2 separate regions of the Homo sapiens genome follow, and region 1 is linked to region 2. Evidence: promoter capture Hi-C in 16 types of primary human blood cells and fetal thymus (Javierre and others, 2016). All regions are on one chromosome and are shown on one strand. Each heading gives the region's core, a stretch centred on a gene start or on the middle of the fragment in contact. The rest is flanking DNA. Distances are from core to core; before and after follow the strand shown. Region 1 has its middle 18 kb from the start of LLPH. Region 2 holds the start of WIF1 (Wnt inhibitory factor 1).

Region 1 (2,700 bases), core at 193-2,692, 990 kb before region 2:
GTTGTTATAAAGCTAGCCCACCTCTTTGTACACAGGCTCACTTGCCCGTCCTCTTTTCTGCCATGCTATGGAGCAGCAAGAGGCCCTCACCAGATGCGCTAACCTGATCTTGGACTTTCCAGCCTCCAGAACTCTGAGCTAAGTAAATCACTTTTCTTTATAAATTATCCAGTCTCAGGTATTCTGTTATAGCAACAGAAAATAGACTAAGATAGTATGCAAATGGGCTGGCCCTTTGTTTTTGTAAAAAAGTTTTATTGGCACAAAGCCATGTCCACATGTCCATGAATTGTCTGTGAATAATTTGTGCTACAAAGGCAGAACTGAATAGTTGTGACAGAGATTCTTGTATAATCAGCAAAGCCTAAATTAAAATTTGGCCTTTTAAGAAAAAGTTTGCAGACTGCTGCTTTAAAATATTTTCTATAGCAAGAAGTACCACTACTGAAAAGAAAAATGAAAAGTAAAAAAATAAAATATTTTCTGTTTGTTAAATGAAGGCTTTTGTTCTTTATTTGAAAATTCAGGTGAGTTGGATCTGGTTTTATGTTTCCATCCTGTTGCATTTTATATTTGGAGAATCCCTCCAAGTTTCTTATTGGAAGGCAGTTGTATTAAAAAAAAAAAAAATAGACAAGCTTACCCTCACTCTGTATCAATGCAAGGCAGGTGGTACCAAAAGGTTGTTTGTATGTTTAGGTGTGTTCCCCATCTGCCACCTCAACTAAGCTTCTTTTAGTCTTTGGACTTAAAAAAAAAAAAAGATTGTCCCATTGTAGAGCTTTTTTCACAAATCTCATAACTCACTTTTCCCTTAAGTCTACAAACAATTTTTGAAAATGTTAAATGCTGGAGAAAGAACTCTGTTTTAATTTAATATGGCACCTAGAATACTGGCACATGTAAAGACATTCCAATTTAGTTTGATTTGGTGGGTGGTCTAGCTGAAAATACACTTACAGGTTGGTTTCATTAATAGGAAATTAATATGGACTAAAATAGTCATAGCATTTAAGGCTGGAAAACGTTTTAGAGATCATCTATTTTAACTTGTGCTTCTTAACAGATGAGGAAACTGAGGCCAATTTCCCCAAGAGGTTAGTAGTTCATGGCAGAGACCAGGAGCCCAAGAGTCTTTGTATTCACAGACCAATCTTTTTCAAAACCATAAATAGGTGACAATTAACCACACAAATAATAACATTTGGACTAATGTCAAAATTAATTGTATTCTTTTCTATAAAAGAGGGGTTGTTAAATAAAGCTATGGTGTGTGACTAGTGATCTTTTCTGTAGGTCTGTTTCTGCCGTAGTTAATAACCAATCCTTTCCCATTGGTGGCTGTGCCTCTTTGTTCCACAGGTAGTATAACATCTTTTACTTGAAACAAAACAAAACAGCAGTAACAAACTTCCCCCCTCCCCCATGCCCTCCATCAAAGGCCAGATTTTTTTTGTTTTTGTCTCTACTCTTTCCCTTCTAATTCATCTTGTGTGGTTGTCAACTTCTTTTTCTTTCCATAACTTTTGTTGTTTTTTCTCATAAAAGTAACACATGTATGTTGGAGAAAATTTTAAAACCCAAGAAAGTATAAATGAAATAAATAATTCATAATCCAACCACCCAGAGAATGTGTAGCTCTGTGTATATTTTCATAATTGTCTTAATACTGTATAATTTTATATTCTGCTTTCTTAACTTTATATCATGGGGATTTTTTTCCCATGCTGCTGGAAATTTTTTAAGAGTGTTGTTTGAAAAGTTCCCTCATTCTGTCTTGTGATAAACTATATATTTTTTTATTTGTCTACTTTTGGACATTTAATTTTTTTCTGAAAAAACTTTTTATTTTTGCTATTAAAATACTTCTCTGTAATATTAATGACCTTACATGTAAGTCTAATCCTTATCTGATTATATTCTTGAGGAAGGGTTCTAGAAGAGTATGAACTTTTCTTTAAGACTCCTTATCTGTATTGCCAAACTGCTCTCCTGAAAGGCTGAAACAATTAGTAATCCTTCCAGGAGTGAGTGAGTGCTTGTCTGGGGTACCCTTGAAGGGTTGTAAAATTTAAGCCTTTTAAAACATTCCTTTCAGTAAGTCATTCTCCTGCTAGGAAACTTCCCATGGCTGCAAGACCAAATTGAAGCTTCTTAGCATACTCTCTTCCATTTCTTCACTTCCAGTTGATTTCACAACCACTGCAATCTGGCAGGTCTAACATTATATTGATGTCTAATACCAGGAGTGACAAATTGGTACCCTTGCCCTGGAGAGACTTTGTACAGTGTTCTGCTTTGTTTTTTTGATGAGATTGTTGCCTTTAGATGGGTCAGACACTTCTAAAGTGATCTCTAGCTAGACAGTCCCTTTTGTTTGACACACACTGACCGGCCCTGGGAGGAAACTGCCTTAGGTAAACCCATGCCACTTACGCTCTGTAATCTCTTTTCCTCACACACTCCATGGCTGTCACTGCCAGGGCATCTTGGCTTCTACTGCTTTTTCCTGAGAGAAAACAGTAGATATTTTATTGTGGTAAAATATACAAACATAAACATTTATCTTTTTAACGATTTCTAAGTGTGCAATTCAGTGGCATTAAGTACCTTCACAGCGTGGTGCAATCATCACCACTGTCACTACTGTTTCCAGAATTTTTTATCATTTCAAACAGAAACTCTGCACCCATTAAACAA
Region 2 (2,901 bases), core at 366-2,865:
TAAAGGACTGATTGAAACACCACGCCCAGCCCCAGACATTTGATCCTTGAGGCATTTGTCACAGCTTCGGGTACTAAAGAACAAACACAAGTAAATGAACCTTTTATGAGTCCGAAGGCTAAGTTTTTTAATTAAAAACAAAACAAAACAAAACCCTTTTGCTTCCGTTTTCTTTGTGCATCCGAGGAATTAGGCAGGAGGCAAAAATCAGTTCTTTCTGCTGGGCCAGGTGGATAGGTTATGCTGCAGCCCACTGCCGGCCAAGCATGCTTCTCACAGACGAGGCCAGAGCCTTGGTTTTGCCCCCACGCACCTGTGAATTCGGCAACTTTTAAAAAATTATTTTATTTATTTATTTATATATTTTTTGAGACGGAGTCTCGCTCTATCGCCCAGGCTGGAGTGCAGTGCCACGATCTTGGCTTAATGCAACCTCCGCCTCCCGGTTCAAGTGATTCTCCTGCCTCAGCCTCCCGGGTAGCTAGGACTACAGGCCCCCGCCACCATGCCCAGCTAATTTTTGCATTTTTAGTAGAGACGGGGTTTCACCACGCTGGCCAAGCTGGTCTCGAACTCCTGACCTCAGGTGATCCGCCCGCCTTGGCCTCCCAAAGTGCAGGGATTACAGGCGTGAGCCATCGCGCCCGGCCGAATTCAGCAACTTTTAAAAAATATCAGCAAACGTGAAGATATCCACGATGTTAGAGGAGCCCTACCCCGGAGGGTCAGGTACAGCTATCGTCCAGGGCCCAGGGCACTCTTCCGGGCACTGCCGGGTTATCAGGGAGACAGACGGGAATCCCCAAATGCTGGGTGTCGGGCAAGTACCAGCTGGACGCCCTGCGCCTCGAGCCAAGGCCAGCGCCTGCCATCGGCACCATCGGACAGTCGAGCCTCGAGTTTTAACTGCTTGGGAGCGCGCAAAGTGCCAGCCTATCGCAGAACGGAGCGCATAGGGTTGGCGGAGAGAGGAATCCTACTGGCTGAAAGGGAGACGAAGGGCAATTTGCGCCTTCAGTGAGCGCCGGAGGAGGAACAGGAGTCATCACCTCATCATCATCATCATCATCATCATCACCATCACCATCACCATCATCAGCACTCAGTCAAGCCCAGCGTTGTCTGCTCTCCCCATTTCCCTCCCCCGAAGCCTCCCTTGGCCCGAGGAGGTGGCGAGTGATGTCCCAGGGGTCTCTGAGTGCCCTTCTCCGGGTCCGCCAGCCCTACACGCCCACTTCGCGGGCGCTCCACTGGGCGCACCGCACTGTGAATGCAGCCTCGGGGGTCCCTCGCGGCCCCGCCCCCGGGGGGGCCCCACAGCGCCCCCAAGTGGCGGCCGCCCAGGCCTCGCGGGCCCCACTCCTCGCTCGCACCTCGCTCGCGCCAGCCCTTCCCGCTCTTCTGTTCTCGCTCTATTTGCCCCGCTGACTGCTGGCCTCGCCAGCTTTGCCAGTCTTACGTCTCTGCCGCCCCCACTCCCGCCCGCGCCCCATCTTCTTGCGCGACTCGCGCCCGCTGGTCCCCCCCTCCTCCTCCCGCGTCCTGCCTGCCCCCTCCTCCTGCTCTCGCAGGCTCCTTGGCACCCAGGCCGGGAGGCGACGCGCCCAGCCGTCTAAACGGGAACAGCCCTGGCTGAGGGAGCTGCAGCGCAGCAGAGTATCTGACGGCGCCAGGTTGCGTAGGTGCGGCACGAGGAGTTTTCCCGGCAGCGAGGAGGTCCTGAGCAGCATGGCCCGGAGGAGCGCCTTCCCTGCCGCCGCGCTCTGGCTCTGGAGCATCCTCCTGTGCCTGCTGGCACTGCGGGCGGAGGCCGGGCCGCCGCAGGAGGAGAGCCTGTACCTATGGATCGATGCTCACCAGGCAAGAGTACTCATAGGTAAGGCCCCCGCCTCCAGCGCCTTCCCCTGCCTATGTCCTCCTCTCTCCACTCTTCAAGAAAGAGGGATACCTGCGTTTCTTGTGTTTTAAAACTTAATTTCCACAAAAGAGTGTTCCCCTCTTTTAATTAGATATTTTCCATCTGAAAGCTTATAAACTTCTCTTTTAAGAAACCAAAGCTGATCTAGTGTTCTGATCATGCTGTTGTTAATTTTTATAGCCCTGCGTTTTTAGGTGCACCCGGCATTTTTTTGCGTCGGTTAACTCCATGTCCATCCCTTTTCCCTGAAAGCATGGGTCTGTTGGCATCATTCTCATCATCCACAGAGAAAAATTAATCTTAGTAGCGTTGATGGTACTGAAGGCAGATGCTTGTGAACAGAAATGACCCACACTAATTCTTTGGTTTTCTTTTTGCTTGAAACTTCTGATTTAGATGATTTCAAGTCTACCTGGTTTGATCGTTTTATTATTTTAAAAACCAGGATTTGAAGAAGATATCCTGATTGTTTCAGAGGGGAAAATGGCACCTTTTACACATGATTTCAGAAAAGCACAACAGAGAATGCCAGCTATTCCTGTCAATATCCATTCCATGAATTTTACCTGGCAAGCTGCAGGGCAGGTAAGTTCTGAGAAAATTACCCTTTAATATTTCCACTGCCTTATGGCAGGTGGAAATAGTACTGTATAGTGTGTAGCCTGGTACATTTTACAGTTATTAAGAGAAATTTCTCATCTGATTGCCAAAGCAAATAAAGAATTAATTTCCATTTATTTCAAGTTGCCATATCAATTAATGATCTTCAAAAGAAAAGAACAAGCCTTGTGCCTAAGCCCATTATTTTGATAAGACTCAGTGTCCTGAGGCTGCTGGAAATATAAAGACCTCCAATACCAACATCACTGTGTTTCTGTGATCATTGACATTAAAATTTAACATACTTAAAGGACTCTTTTTGCATAGTAGTTTCTAATCACTTGTGACATTCTTCATACTTTACAACAAATTTTAAAGTTTGT

What was found. The method cuts DNA at HindIII sites, captures the fragments that hold promoters and counts their contacts. A CHiCAGO score of 5 or more calls a contact.
Region 1: a contact is called between a fragment that was not itself captured here and the fragment with the promoter of WIF1 in region 2, in 1 of 17 cell types (M2 macrophages). The highest score is 5.1, in M2 macrophages.

Annotation. Positions count from the first base shown.
Region 1 is chr12:66,111,252-66,113,951 of GRCh38, reverse strand. No RefSeq gene overlaps it. Among named protein-coding and RNA genes, the nearest start is that of LLPH, 18 kb to the left of the region's middle. The HindIII fragment of the contact is 1,421 bases long and covers 732-2,152 here.
Region 2 is chr12:65,120,019-65,122,919 of GRCh38, reverse strand. WIF1 (Wnt inhibitory factor 1) reads left to right here and starts at 1,615. Exons shown (of 10, transcript NM_007191.5): 1 at 1,615-1,876; 2 at 2,364-2,503. The coding sequence starts at 1,729. RefSeq lists a silencer at 1,295-1,454. The HindIII fragment of the contact is 2,494 bases long and covers 1-2,029 here.